Regions from separate parts of the Homo sapiens genome. Here regions 2 and 3 are each linked to region 1. Evidence: promoter capture Hi-C in human tissues and cell types (Jung and others, 2019). All regions are on one chromosome and are shown on one strand. Each heading gives the region's core, a stretch centred on a gene start or on the middle of the fragment in contact. The rest is flanking DNA. Distances are from core to core; before and after follow the strand shown.

Region 1 (4,955 bases), core at 1,146-3,645:
TTAAAATGCACTGTCAATTTTCTCTGCATTAGACAAAACCTGGGCAGGACTGGCCCTCAGACAAAGAGAATTAAAAAAAGAAAGTATCTCTGAAAGAGTGAACTTTACTATATGTAGATGTACTTTAATAAACCTGTATTTTTATTTTAAAAACACATCTTTGGCATCTTGATGTCCCTGTCAGCATGTACCCTCTTGGTACCTACAACCTTCAAAGGCCCAGCTTTCCTGTAATGATCCTGGTTGTTTTCTCCCTCTTTCACACTCTTCACTGCTCACCAATACCCCAATCTCACCACCAAACAAGGCTTTGCATGTGAAGGCCCATTTCTTCCCAGCTTGGGGTTTGAAAGAGAGCCGGTAGAAGAATTCAGTATGTTTATAAATGCAGAGAGATCCTTAGGGGAGCGAACTCTACACTGAGGTAGCCATACTTTAACAGAGGAGCAACAAAACCTTAAAAGAAGGATTATCCTCTAAGGGCAAGATTTCAAGCTGCTACAAAATGGTGATGTAAGAAGTAATATTGTGGAGTGGAAGGAGCACTGGGCTAGATGTCAGGAGACGAGTACTCTAGTCCTCTTCTGCCACGGACTTTCTACAAGTCACTGTATCTCACTGGGCCTCAGCCTTCACATCTGTCCAATGAAGAGATCAGATGGGATGCTTTCTGAGCTCCCTTCAAATAGTACATCAGCCTCTATCTTGGTCTGAACATTGTATGAAGAACCAGCCTGGATGCTAACCCGGGCATTTCATCTTTCAGTCAGACTCAGCTCTCTTTCAATTCCCTTCTTTTCAAATATCACTAACACCATCAAAATGAAAAGGTATCCTTTGAAGGAAATAATGTTGACCCTGATGAAAAGTCAGACTCCTATGGGAACTAAGATTTGAACAGATACTGGGGGTATCTGGCCTGAGGATCTCAGCATTCCTGGTTGAGGCCAGCCAAGGATGGGAAGAAGAACTTCAAAGGGCTTTAGAAATCACGTAGTTCAACTCTACTTTATGAAGAAAAAACTGAGGCCCAGAGAGGCAAAAGTCACAAAGCTACAGTGACAGTCAGAATTGGAACCCAGCCTCCCACTATCCAGTCCAGCACCATGTGGAAACATCCCACAGCAATAATCCCATGGAGATTTGGGATTTGGAGGCTTGCAACACTGTGCCCAAACAGCAGACAAGGCTCTGGTCACAGTCACCCCCAAGTCCCCTGCTTCTTTGTTTTTTCTTTTACTTTTTTTTTTTTTTTTTTTTTTTTGAGACGGAGTCTCACTCTGTCGCCCAGACTGGAGTGCAGTGGCACAGTCTCAGCTCACTTCAACCTCCGCCTCCTGGGTTCAAGCCATTCTCTTGCCTCAGCCTCCTGAGTACCTGGGACTACAGGTGTAGGCCACCACGCCCGGCTAACTTTTGTATTTTTAGTAGGGACGGAGTTTCATCATGATGGCTAGGGTGATCTCGAACTCCTGACCTCAGGTGATCAACCCGCCTTGGCTTCCCAAAGTGCTGAGATTACAGGCGTGAGCCACCACGCCCAGCCTGCTTCTTTGTTTTCTAAGCTGTCCCACCTTCTAGAACATGACAGAGTCTCCAGTGAGAAGGGACATGCAATAAAAATCAATGTAGTCTAGGGCCTCGAGAGGGCTTTGAGGTCCAAGGTTTGCCCTAAGTGATGGGACACTTTGTGTTTTGTACACCAAGAGCGCTGTCTCCAGCTATCTGGAGAGTCTGAGGCTCTGGGAGTGAGAAAGGGTTTCTAAAGCACTGGCTGCTTCTTTGACATCTCTCCCCACCCCCCAGGCAACAGAGCCAAGACACACACACCCCAACTTTCTCTGTCCTGTTCTATTACTGTTTGCTGTTGCTTTGGAGCCTCATAAATAGGGCATTGAAAGCACTTCCTGCAGCTGAAAGAAGCCCTGAGTAGCTCGTCTCATTCCCAGCGTGCAGCTCAGCAAGGGGTCCGTCCTTCTCTGTCACTGTCTCTTTTGCCTGTTGTAATTCTGTCTGCCTCTCTGGGACTCTGCCTGTCTCACTCTTTCTGTCTGTGCCTCTCCTCACTCTTGTTCTTTCTGCCTGAATCACAGCCCTCAGTTTTTCTGTCCTCATGCATTTGTCTTTGTGGCTCTTTCCGTCTTTCTGCCCTTGACACCATCCCCTCTCCCAGTGCTTCCCCTCTGCTTCCAGATCGCTTCATGACTTAGGCAGGGAAACAGAGGTCAGGGCCTCCTTCCAGGCTTCCCTCTGCATCTTACTGAGTATGCAGGTCGGAAGAGCCTCGGGTCCTGCCTCCGCGGGTGGCCTAGAGCCAAAGGAAGGCGGAGCCCGTCGGGGCGGGATTGGCCCTTAGGGCCACCTCATAAAGCCTGGGGCGAGGGGCACAACGGCCTTGGGAAGGAGCCCTGCTGGGGCCGTCCAGTCCCCCAGACCTCACAGGCTCAGTCGCGGATCTGCAGTGTCATGCCTGGGAGCCCTCGGCCCGCGCCAAGCTGGGTGCTGTTGCTGCGGCTGCTGGCGTTGCTGCGGCCCCCGGGGCTGGGTGAGGCATGCAGCTGCGCCCCGGCGCACCCTCAGCAGCACATCTGCCACTCGGCACTTGGTGAGTCCGAGGTCCGCGAGGTCCACAGCAGGGGGTGGTTGTGGGGGATTAGTATCTGGCCAGCAGTACACCAGGAGTCCAGAGGAAAAGGGAGGAGCTCAAATTCTTACCGGTTGTCTCTTGCTGAGGCTGATGGGTGGAGAAGGACCAGGCGCCATAGCAACCTTGCAAGCCCAGAACCTGACTGATTCATAAGGAAATGAAGATTTCATCAGGGACTTCCATAGCGACCTCCCTCACTCCGGCCATACTGCAATTATGGAGTGTCATTACACAAGGTGTCACCGGAGCTATCTGATGATTATTCTGAACTACTAGACTGGGGACAGAAAGGGGAGGGGAGAGGGCTTGCATTGTAACTACCCGTGTCTGTCCAGGCCTATAACTGAGGTTGCCACCAAGCCCCTATGGCAACACACACGTTCTGTCCTTTCTCTTCCCTCTGCCTGGAATGCCCTCCCTCACACCCTTAAATTCCTGGCAGACTCCTACTCATCCTTCAAGGGCTAACTTAGGTCTCTCCCCTTCTCTGCAGGCTCCCGGGCTCCTTGGTGCCGCCTCAGCATCTCTAACCGTCTTAGCGCTCCTACTATGCTGTGCTGTTGTTCTTTACACGTGTGCACTCCACTAGATCAAGAGCTCGGCAGGATGGGGACCCTGTCTTAATCACATCTATGGGCCTAGTGCCTAGTGCAAGGCCAGGCACAGAGGAAGAACATCATCAACAGTTTTTGGTTATTAATGCTCAAATGGCAAGAGATGCAATACCTCAGTGCAGGGTCAGAACATTTATGAATTCAATAAACATTTACTAATATCAACTGTAGGCGGGATGAGAGGCCTTGACCACAGCAATAGATAAACTTCACACCGACTGCCCTGAAGGGGCTCCTCCTCCCTTCTCTACTCTGACTCCTACCCTGTGCCCCACTGCACAAACGGCTATGGAGAACTAGAGCTCTCCAGACTAACTGGTTCAAAAGGCAGAAACAGCTTAGCGGTTATAGGACCTAATAAGCCTGAGGGGTTTGGAACTTCCAGTGACTGCAGGGGAGGTGTTTCCAGGTCCCCCTTCTCACACATCACGTTGCTCACAACCCAGCCACACCAAAACCAAGAACTGCCCTATAGACTTCTTCATGGACCCTGGATCATCCAGACCTCAGGTGTATTGCCCCCACCAGCTGCTGAAGGTTCCCTCTTTTCTCTTCCTATGCAGTGATTCGGGCCAAAATCTCCAGTGAGAAGGTAGTTCCGGCCAGTGCAGACCCTGCTGACACTGAAAAAATGCTCCGGTATGAAATCAAACAGATAAAGGTACATGGGGGCAGGCTGGGATGTGTAGCCCCTAAGGCTGATGGAGAAAGTGGAGTCTGTGTTCTGGGAGGGCTGGTAGCTTTCAGGTGGCCTGGCTCAGTAATCCTTGGGTCTAGATACTGAAGTGGAACTGGATGAGATTTGGAGGCAGAGCCCATAGAATCCCAGGGATATTGCCAGGGAGGGCCTCAGCATCCATCTGGTCCCACAGCTGCTGGTGTATGGTGCCACTACAGGTACCTACTGGAATAAACCAAGGTTTAGGTGTTTTTTGTTGTTGTTGTTTTGTTTTAAGAGAGAAAATAACCCAGTAGGGACATCTGAGGACACAAAATCCTCAACTAGACTTTTGCTTACATTTTTAGGCTGAGAAGTGAGAGGTTTTTGTCTGTTAATATATACAGTACACTCACTGACCCAATATTGCCTTTTTTTGTAATTGCCTGTCAGATGTTCAAAGGGTTTGAGAAAGTCAAGGATGTTCAGTATATCTATACGCCTTTTGACTCTTCCCTCTGTGGTGTGAAACTAGAAGCCAACAGCCAGAAGCAGTATCTCTTGACTGGTAAGTTAAAAGACCAACAACTGGCCTTAATATAATAGATTCTGCCCTAGGGGAGGTAGTGAGAAAGGAGCCAGGGTCTTCCTTGGGCAGTAGGCTGAGCCAGGTGGCATTTTCTTGGGCATAAAACAGAGCTGTGTTAGTGACAGACAACCTCTGGGTTAGGAGGAGCCTTGTAACCTCCCTTTAAATGTAAGAGTTCTTAGTACAGTGACCCTGGCCACCGTTTCACTATTTTAAGGACAGGCTGCTCACCCAGTGTAGGGCAGCTGCTTCCGTTTTTCAAATAGTTTAAATTAGTATAAGATTTTTGGCAACTTGAGTCGAAGTCTCCTCTCTAAAACTGCTCCTTGCAGGTCAACTCTGCCTTTTGCACAGGACTTAACAGGAGCTTGAGTCTAACATAGTTCTGTCTCTGTGAACTTGGGCCCAGGCAGGATTCCTCCATACTGAATTGGCTGGGATAGAACA
Region 2 (4,955 bases), core at 1,301-3,800, 190 kb before region 1:
AACTCCTGGGCTCAAGTGACCCCCCTGCCTCAGCCTCCAGAGCAGCTAGGATTTCAGTTGCTCGCCACCACACTCAGCTGTGTCTTTTTTTTTTTGAGACAGGGTCTCACTCTGTCCCTCAGGCTGGAGTGCAGTGGCACAATCTAGGCTCATTGCAACCTACCTCCACCTCCCAGATTCAAGAAATTCTCCTGCCTCAGTCTCTCGTGTATCATTTTTTTGAAAGGCAAATCCATTCTTCTTTAACCAAAAACTGTAATTTTGTTCAGATTTTCAAAAGTAATATATTTTATGGACATAATTATATTAAACAATTATATTATTTTGATTTAAAGGAAAATAATGCTGCTAGGTGCAATGGCTCACACCTGCAATCCCAGCACTTTGGGTGGCTAAGGCAAGAGGATCCCTTGAGCCCAGGAGTTGGAGACCAGCCTGGGCAACAGAGTGAGACCCTGCCTCTATAAAAAAATAAAATAATTGGCCAGGCATGGTGGCATGTACCTGTAGTGTCAGCTACTTGAGAGGCTGAGGCAGGAGGGATGCTTGAGCCCAGGAGACCGAGGCTGCAGTGAGCTGTAATCGCATCACTGCACTCTAGCCTGGGTGACAGAGTGAGACCCTGTCTTAAAAAAAAAGAAGCCAATAACTCCAGTAAATGTATCTTTGGTATCAAAAAAAAAAAGGTCTTCTTAACTCAGAAGCAGTAGAAAAGAACACTGACATTGGAGCCAGAAAGCCTAGGTTTTACGTTTTTGTCTTGGCTCAGCCACAAACCTACTGTGTCAACTCTTTGGGTCCACATTTCTCATCTCTAGAATCAGAAAAAGCCCTTTCCACAAAACAGAATAATCCTTAAGGTCTTTTTGAGTTTTAATGTTGAGATACTGAATAATATGACTGTAATTCATTTATTTAAAATTTAATGGAAATTCTCCATATTGCATACTTATTCATGTTCTGATCCTGAGTTACTATTTCCTTTTCATACTTGACTCATACCTAGGTGACAGTATAAAAGGCACTTTCATCTGAAAAAATAGTGTCTGATGATAAATTAAAAGTCTCAAAAGGAAAAAACCAACTGAAAACTTCCTTTTCTGCCCAGCTTCAAAAGTTAACTTCCCTCTAATACCTGAAAAAGAGACTAACCTGTTTAACCACTTTCTAGGGATCAACTAAACACTTTTGAAATTACTGTAACTTTGAACCAAAGACGTCCCACCTAAACTATGTTAACTTGTCGTTGCATGTAATATCTGAAATTCTCTAGTAAGCTGTTTTCTAGCATAGTAAAATACCATGAACTATATTATCAACTGACACATTTTCATGTTGTGGGAAACCTAAACCTCTAAAACATGTATCTTTTTCAGTTTTCAGATTTTATCAATGAATTTTTCAAGATCAGTTATATGGAGATTTATTGGGTAGCACATCCTGTCACTGGTGAAGCACAGTGGGAATTCACAAAGGTTCTACAGCAAGCGTAGAGCCGCGGAGCTGCACTCAGTTTCAGCTGGTGTCACTTACCAGTTCTGTGACTGTACTAAAGGAAATTTACGTACTGTTGAAATCACGGGCTCACGAAACTTAATAGGAGGGAGATTAGCATATTCCAACTCTTAATTTTTGATATAAGGAAAATGGGTTCCAGAGGAATGAAATGATTTGCCCAAAGCATGACCTAGATAAATTAGCAGCAGAGTTTGAGCTAGAAACCAGGTTTCTTGATTCCCAGTCCAAAGCTCCAAACGATGCTCTATCTCATTAAAATGATGCAGTAAGACGTTCAAATCAGTTCTTCAGGTCAATGATCCTTAATGCCAACAGTCATGGTGGAAGTCATCAGCATGAAAGCATTTTTCTATGATGAATCACTTAATGTGGAGGAATTACCTATGAAAATGTCATCATTCACCACAGGGTTTAGATATGGTGCTCTCTACAAAGTAAGTACTCAATTATGACTCGGTAATTAAAATTTGATAATATTTGAACATCAGTTCACGGAGTCATTTTGCTGACGAATGTTCTCTTGCCTCATTCACAGATTCTTCATGAGTCATCCCAGCATTCTGGGGTTCTTCTGGTATGATGTTTTTGTTTCTATTGACAAAGTTCCTTGCTCTTAAGAAAATGATAACATTACTATTTGAAAATTTCTACTTTGAGGTAACAATACTCTAAAAAAAAACACCTTGGATCTGTATAGTGTTTTTATTTCGTTTGAAACTCACAACAATGCTGGGAGGTTATTCAAAGCAAAAGAAGAAAATAATAACAACTATTGAATAGGGTTTCAATGTGGAACCAGATAATAGTTTTTGGCAGTAAAGCTTTGAGTAATTTGTCTTTATTCAAAATGAACAAAGAGTCAAACAGACCTGGGTTTGCATTCAAGCCTTGTCACATCTCTGTTTTCTTATCTTTTCGGAGTTGTGAGAATTAGAGATGATTTAAATAAATCAGCGTCTGGAACAGAGTAGGCTTTCAAAATTATATTATGAATTCTTATAATCAAATATTTAAATCTTACATGACACTTTAATAAAGCAATAAGAGCAGTCATCAAGCAACACTCTTATCGCTCTTATGTTAACAGGAGCTACATAAATACGCTTCAGGAAGAGACGGTATATAGAGTATGGAATCTTCAAAAGCAAGTACAAATTTTTAAAGTTCACTTAGCGGAAGTAGACATATTTTCTTCACACCAACAAATAGATATTTGACTGAAAATAAAATGTAACTGTGAAATCAGTACATAATAAACTTAATTTTGATGGCAATTAAACCACAGGCAACACAGAGTATATTTTATGTTTATTTTCCGGTAAGATTCATCAGTCCATTAATAGTAGATGGTTCAGTCTAAAAGTTTGTCTCTAACAATCTTTATTAGACACATTATAAATTCTTTCCCAATCTAGAACTTTACATTTGAACTTATAGAATATATCTTAAAGCAGCATTAGTAAAAGTAAGAAGACTTGAAAATATAAACTAGCTTTAAGTAAGATTCAGATTCCACATTTATTGAGTGCCTACGCTGTCAGGGGCTGTGCTAAGTCTTTTAAAATAAAAATTTGTCTAGACTTTATAAAAATTCTGTGAGATTGGCTGGGCGTGGTGGCTCACACCTGTAATCCCAGGACTTTGGGAAGCCGAGGTGGGTGGATCACCTGAGGTCAGGAGTTTGAGACCAGCCTGGCCAACATGGCGAAACCCTGTCTCTACCAAAAATACAAAAATGAGCTGGGTGTGATGGCACATGCTTGTATTCCCAGGTACTCAGGAGGCTGAGGCACGATAAGTACTTGAACTTGGGAGGCAGAGGTTGTAGTGAGCCGAGTTTGCCCCACTGCACTCCAGCCTGGGTGATAGAGCAAGATTCTGTCTCAAAAAAAAAAAAAAAAATTCGGTGAGATTGAATGGTAGCCCCATTTCACAAAAAGGAAACAAGCTCAGAAAGAATGAGGGTGATGTTATGATTAGATAATGGGCTGCTAAATACCGAGCAATACAGTTAAGTATCACATAACTAGGGATAGAATAATATAAATAAGACTGAGCATCAATTCTCAAGCCATTTTCCTACTTTTAGTAAAGAGGATAAGACAAGCACAATGCACTCTAATATACGAGTAGGTGGTTTGAGAGAAGTGCAAACAATCATGACCATTACTAGAGTAATTTCTGTTGAGCTATGTATTCTGCCTCTACTGCAGTACTCGCCACTGACTTGAGGCCCTCAACCCTGCGAAGTCATTTATTATCACCATTTTACAGATAAAGAAATTGAGTTTTGAGATCACATAGCTAATAAGAGGCAGAGAAGGGATTTAAACCAGATGCAATGGAGTGCGAAAGATATTCAGAGATGAACAGAGCCCTTCTGACTGTGCATGGAGATGGAAGGAATCCAAAAAGCCTTCAGGAAAGAGAGGAAATCTGAGATGAGCCTGAAAGACAGAGAAGCTTTGGATGGCAGGAACAAGGAAAGGGAACAGAGTGAAGAAAGGCAAGACTCAACCAAGAGAGAAGAGTGAGAATGAACTTGGGGAATGAGAATCCATGGTATTGGGCACCTGTGGGACGTTTTGGGATAGAAATTTCCAAGGGCTACTAGGCAGTGATTTAGATCAACACAGGGGAGCCAAAAACAACAAACGTGTCTTAGACCTACTGTTTCAGGCTGGCAGAGTTCTGTGTGCACATCATTAAATAATACTGTACGTGTGTAGGATAGGATAAAAGAAATCTCTTTAGTAAAGATACTGAATTTCAAATGAAGTACAATACAGTTTACATATGTTAAATCTTTGTATTTGAAAGCTTGGTGGTTTTTAAAGATACTAGAGTGTTTTCTAGTCTTTATATCTTCTTTCCTCCAAGGAAACATTTTCATTTTCCTTGAAGGAAAGAATACACTGCTGCTTTTCTATCTGAAAAGGTAGGGGTTTTTTTGTTTAAAAAAAAAAAACCACCTTTCATTATTATAGAACCAATCCGCGTTCATTGTTAAAAATTAGAAAATACAGACTGGTAAAAACAAAATGATTATACTTCCACTACCAGATATAACCAATGTTGAACTCTTAAAGTTTATGCATCTGGGTCTTTTTCTGGGCATATGTATGATCATATGTATATACAGATACATAAGCACATACACATATACACATACATACAGCATGTGTATTTTTTAATCAAAATGAGATATGGTACTTCCTGGTAGTCCTCTGCTTTTTCAAGTCAATAATCTCCATCTTTTCATTTAATTACATTTTCATTTCAAACAATACCCAGCCCATAGTCACATTTCCCCAGCTGACCCCAAATGTTCTTTATAGTTGGTTTGCTCCAACCCTAATCTAATCCAGTATGATGAAATGCATTTGGCTGTATGTTCCTAAGCTGTTTTAAATCTAGCATGACTACTCCTTCCCCTT
Region 3 (4,955 bases), core at 936-3,435, 150 kb before region 1:
AGTCCCAGCTACTTGGGAGGCTGAGGCAGGAGAATGGCGTGAACCCAGGAGGCGGAGCTTGCAGTGAGCCGAGATCCCGCCACTGCACTCCAGCCTGGGCGACAGAGCGAGACTCTGTCTCAAAAAAAAAAAAAAAAAAAAAAAGGGCTCAAATACGTGAAAACAAAGGTAAAAATTTTAATCTAAAAAACGGAACCAAATCTGTATGTAAAAATTAAAGGAGTTGATTCCAGGTTAAGATTAAGTTGTACCAGCTTTCCTTGATACTTGTGCCAATTTTCCTTTGAAATACATAGGTATTTCTTCAGAAGTAGATGGGCAAAAAGTAAAGATTTCTAGAAACTGGTATCTATTCTTAGTGTGTAGCCCCAAGTGTCGGATCAAACAGAACACTTGGCTGGTTCTTACTACTGTCAGAGTCAGGCAGATTTAGGTAACCTTTCCCCCAGACCCCCTCCTGCTACCAGTCCTCTTCCTTCTGAACCCATTCAGAACTGCACTGTATCTTAGAAGGAATCGTCCCCAGATGTGAAACACAGTAGGGCAGAGACAAGATCCATTCTGGGGGGAGTAGACACCAAGGATTGCCGTTCTTTCACCTCTGCCATCTGGTCATTTAACTCAAGATTAGTTTATATTCATTCGATTATAAACACCCTACCCATCATCCCTAGAAGCCAGAGAACTGGGCTGTGAAGACAGCAGACAATTGCCTCACACTTAAACACAGCCCACGTTAGACAGGGGCTGTTCATCTCTACTCACACAATGATTTTACATCTGGGATGGGATTTTTACCAGAACCTAAGTAAATAATAAGGCAGGCCAAGGGCAGTTTACTCAGACTAACTTGTCTGAAATGAAATAAATGGTGAAGTTGACTTAAGATACAGAAAAATAATTAACAATGGAAATAATTGAAAACTTATCAAAGAATTACTTCCTCCAAAAGCTATTAGTTTTATAGTTGATTTTTTAAAGCTTTCAAGGAAGAGATGATTTTCTTACTACATAAGCTGTTTCTCAGTAGGAAAAAATATAGTGACATAATTAACTTTTCTGGAGTGTCATAACACTGATATTAAAACCTGACAACAGAGAAAAATATCAGTCCCACTTATCAATATTGATTTTAAATAATAAATAAAATGTTAATTAACAAATTAAATCCTCTATTAAAATAATGAACCACCATAATCAAGTTACATTTATCTCAGAAAGGCAAAGAGGATTTAATATTTGAAAATCTATTAAAATGTGTCACAGCACTAGGTCAAAAAACCGTATGATTACTACAAAAACGACAAAAACAGTACTCAGTAAAATTCAACATCCATTCTTGACAAAATTTCTTTTAAAAAGCATGAAACTTTAAAAACAAGAATATTAATCTCAAACTTTACAATCAGTATCATCTTAATTGTGAAATACAAGAGCAGCATTTCCCAAAATGTATTCTATAGATAACTTGTTCCCTAAGATTTTCCAACAGAAAAGGTTCTACCATAAAATAAATTTGCATATGGTCTTCATTTTTGGAGATTAATAAAGTACATTAGCATAGTATGTACTCTGCAAACCTTGTAATTTAAAAAACAAAACCATCATCAACAATAACAATCTGCTTCTCGGTTTAATTCAATGGTTCTCAAACTTACTTGAACACATGTTTTTAATTTTTTATTATTTCACTCCTCAACCCACTTTACTGTGGTTTTTGTCACCTACCTTTCTACTGAAACTTAAGTATATGTCATCTCCTTCTTGCTAAATCCATTAGACTTTTCTTGACTTCAATTCTATTTTCTCAGTGGCATGCTGGTAAATATTTAACTGGCTCTCTTTGCAGAGAAAAATGCCCTGATTGGTAGTGTTTGCCAATTTTTGTGGTGTAAATACTCCCACCATGACTGATTTAAAAGCAGCACAAATATTACAGTGTATTTCCACTACTCAGATACCATGGGCATGAATCATCTCAGCAATGTAAAGTAATAAGGAAGTGGTATGCTTTGTGTATTTATTACTTTTATTTTTAATATAATTTGTTTAACTGTATTCAATTTAAGTTTTAATAATAGCATGCATAACGATTGGCTCAATAAAATTGTGAAAATTTAACAATGTGGCTCCAGCACACCACGGTCTCTGCCTCTGCAGCATTTGATATTTTGCCCATCCTCCACTATTGAATCTGTCTCTTTTCTTGGCTCCTTGAAATCAGTTTCTCCCTTTTTTTTTTTTTTTTTTTTTTTTTTTGAGACAGGGTCTTGCTCTGTCATCCAGGTTAGAGTACAGTGGTGTGATCATGGTTCACTGTAGCCTCAACCACCCAGGCTCAAGTGATGCTCTCACCTCGGCCTCCCAAGTAGCTGGGACTACATGTGTGCGCCATCACACCTGGCTAATTTTTCATTTTTTTGTAGAGGCGAGATCTCCTTATGTTGTCCATGCTGATCTCTAACCCGCCTTGGCCTCCCAAAGTGCTGGGATTACAGGTGTGAGTCACTGTGCACGGCCTCCTATTATCCTACCTTATGATGACTATTTTAGTCCCTTTTCCTGGTACCCCTGCTTTCTGAGCTTTTCTATTTTGTGTTCTCTAAGTTTCCTCTTGGCCTTCATCTCTTCTTTATATTCTTGCCCTCAGCACTGTGACTCATAACACATCTACTTGCTTACAGCTCCCAAATCTATCTCTAAACACAACTCCTCTCTTGAGAGTTCCAAGGAAGAACAATTCAACACCTAATTGGACAACTCCTCATTCTCTGCAAAATTAAAAGAAATTCCTTTCTTTACCGGGGTCTTTCAAAATACATTAAAGAAAATTCAGCTTATAACCACAAAGCAACCCTTCTCATATACTCCTTCCCTTCAATTTCCTCTTAATTCCCTTTAATTTTCCTTTAAGTGTTTTCACACACCATGCTCTCCAAAGTGTCTCCTTCACCAAAGGCTGTCCTACCTACACACAGTCTTTATTCCCAGCCCAGGAATTTCACGATCTCTCTCTCTTCCTCTCATTCCCAGCACTTTATGTCTATCAACCCAAATCTTCTGCTTTTCTTGACTAGTTCCTTTCTACTCATTCTCTAATTCTTTTTCATAAAAACATAGGACTGACCTTGTAAGATCAACTTTTTTAAGAGTAGGGGAAGGGATTATTGTACTGTCAAATTACAATTCTCTTTGGTGGGTTGGGAGAGGTGGAAGTATGTGAACACTCACAAATGACTAATTTTTGTCCTATGCAAGTAAATACACGGATCTGTCCCCTAACCCCACCATAGCTGACTGATTCAATTAGAGGCCAGACACAAGATGAGCCGTTTACATTCCTCTCCAGATTTTTTACAACACTGACAAAATTTGCTATATTCAATTGACCTCTGTATCCTGAGACAAAATAAAATGTCTTTATTTAGATTAAGAGGAATTTAAGAGAGACAAAAAAAAAAAAAGAATTTCCTAACAGCGGTTGATTTTTTTTTTTTTTTTTTTTGAGACGGAGTCTTGCACTGTCGCCCAGGCTGGAGTGCAGTGGCGCGATCTCGGCTCACTGCAATCTCTGCCTCCCGGGTTCACGCCATTCTCCTGCCTCAGCCTCCCTAATGGCTGGGACTACAGGCGCCCACCACCACGCCCGGCTAATTTTTTGTATTTTTAGTAGAGATGGGGTTACACCGTGTTAGCCAGGATGGTCTCGATCTCCTGACCTCGTGATCCACCAGCCTCGGCCTCCCAAAGTGCTGGGGGATTACAGGCGTGAGCCACCGCGCCCGGCCCAGCGGTTGATTTCTAAGTGATGATGAAGTTACTAAATATAAAGATTTGGTGATCTAATTTATCTTGTCATAAGCAACAACAGGTACTTTCAAGTTGCTTACTACTTACAAGACACATAAGCTGATTTGCAGTGAATTAACACAACTAAAAGTTTAAATTTAATCCACTGTTACATGTGAATATGGTTACACCTGTATAGGTCTAATTGTTAAATGTGGAATAGTGGTGGCGGTGGTGATGGGATGTGGACATCTCATTCCCTGGAAGGCCAAATACTTGCAAAGTAGGCTCCTGTGCATGACAGGGTGGCTGGGTTCAGATTGTCTGGGTTCAAATCCTAGTTTTTATCACCTGGCAGGTTATTTTACCTCTCTGTTCCTGTTTCTTCATCTGACTTTAATACTGTATATTAGGAGTCCCCCACCCCAAGGCCGTGAAGCAGTAGCAGTCCATGGCCTGTTAGGAACTGGGCCACGTGGCAGGAGATGAGTGGTGGGCGAGCGAACATTATTGCCTGAGCTCCGCCTCCTGTCAGATCAGTAGCAGCCTTAGATTCTCAAAGGAGTGCAAACCCTATTGTGAACTGTGCATGTGAGGGATCTATGTTGCATGCTTCTTATGAGAATCTAACTAATGCCTGATGATCTAAGGTGGAACAGTTTCATCCTGAAACCATTTCCACCTGCCACCAGTCTGTTGAAAAACTGTCTTCCATGAAACCAGTCCCTGGTGCCAAAAAGGTGGGGGACTGCTGGTGTACATAGCTGCTGAAAGAATAAAATGAGATAATGTATATAATGTGCTTAAAACAGAGCCTGATATAGAATAAGCATTCAACAAATATTAATTATTACCATCAAGAGCTAGATGACTTATTTGGTGCTTGAGTTAATTATGGAGTTATCGTTCAGAAGGATGGTTAAATGACATTTTGGTTCAAGATTTAAACTGCAGAATGGTCTAAAGGTAGAGAGAATGGAGAGAAAACGTTCTCTAAGCATGAAATTGTATGGTTACATTTATAAATTCATTGTATACTAAGTTACCTTAATGAGTAATGTTAGTCTAAAAAGTTATGATGGCTATTTGGGATTAGGAGGTAGAATGACACTACAGATTTGAAATATTAAGCAACAATTATTTGTTGAGCATCTGCTATTTGTTAG

What was found. Contacts are between HindIII fragments. The study calls those that stand out against the background at their distance.
Region 2: a fragment that was not itself captured here is called in contact with the fragment with the promoter of TIMP4 in region 1 in 4 of the 25 tissues and cell types used here (IMR-90 fibroblasts, mesenchymal stem cells, neural progenitor cells and 1 more).
Region 3: a fragment that was not itself captured here is called in contact with the fragment with the promoter of TIMP4 in region 1 in 1 of the 25 tissues and cell types used here (liver).

Annotation. Positions count from the first base shown.
Region 1 is chr3:12,156,352-12,161,306 of GRCh38, reverse strand. TIMP4 (TIMP metallopeptidase inhibitor 4) reads left to right here and starts at 2,395. Exons shown (of 5, transcript NM_003256.4): 1 at 2,395-2,605; 2 at 3,825-3,922; 3 at 4,373-4,487. The coding sequence starts at 2,467. The region is part of intron 5 of SYN2 (synapsin II); the gene reads right to left. The HindIII fragment of the contact is 15,405 bases long and covers 1-4,955 here.
Region 2 is chr3:12,342,327-12,347,281 of GRCh38, reverse strand. The region is part of intron 2 of PPARG (peroxisome proliferator activated receptor gamma); the gene reads right to left. Among named protein-coding and RNA genes, the nearest start is that of PPARG, 56 kb to the right of the region's middle. RefSeq lists an enhancer at 1,419-2,618. The HindIII fragment of the contact is 6,605 bases long and covers 1-4,955 here.
Region 3 is chr3:12,305,648-12,310,602 of GRCh38, reverse strand. All of the region lies in intron 1 of PPARG (peroxisome proliferator activated receptor gamma), which reads right to left. Among named protein-coding and RNA genes, the nearest start is that of PPARG, 19 kb to the right of the region's middle. RefSeq lists a silencer at 3,442-3,649. The HindIII fragment of the contact is 7,356 bases long and covers 1-4,955 here.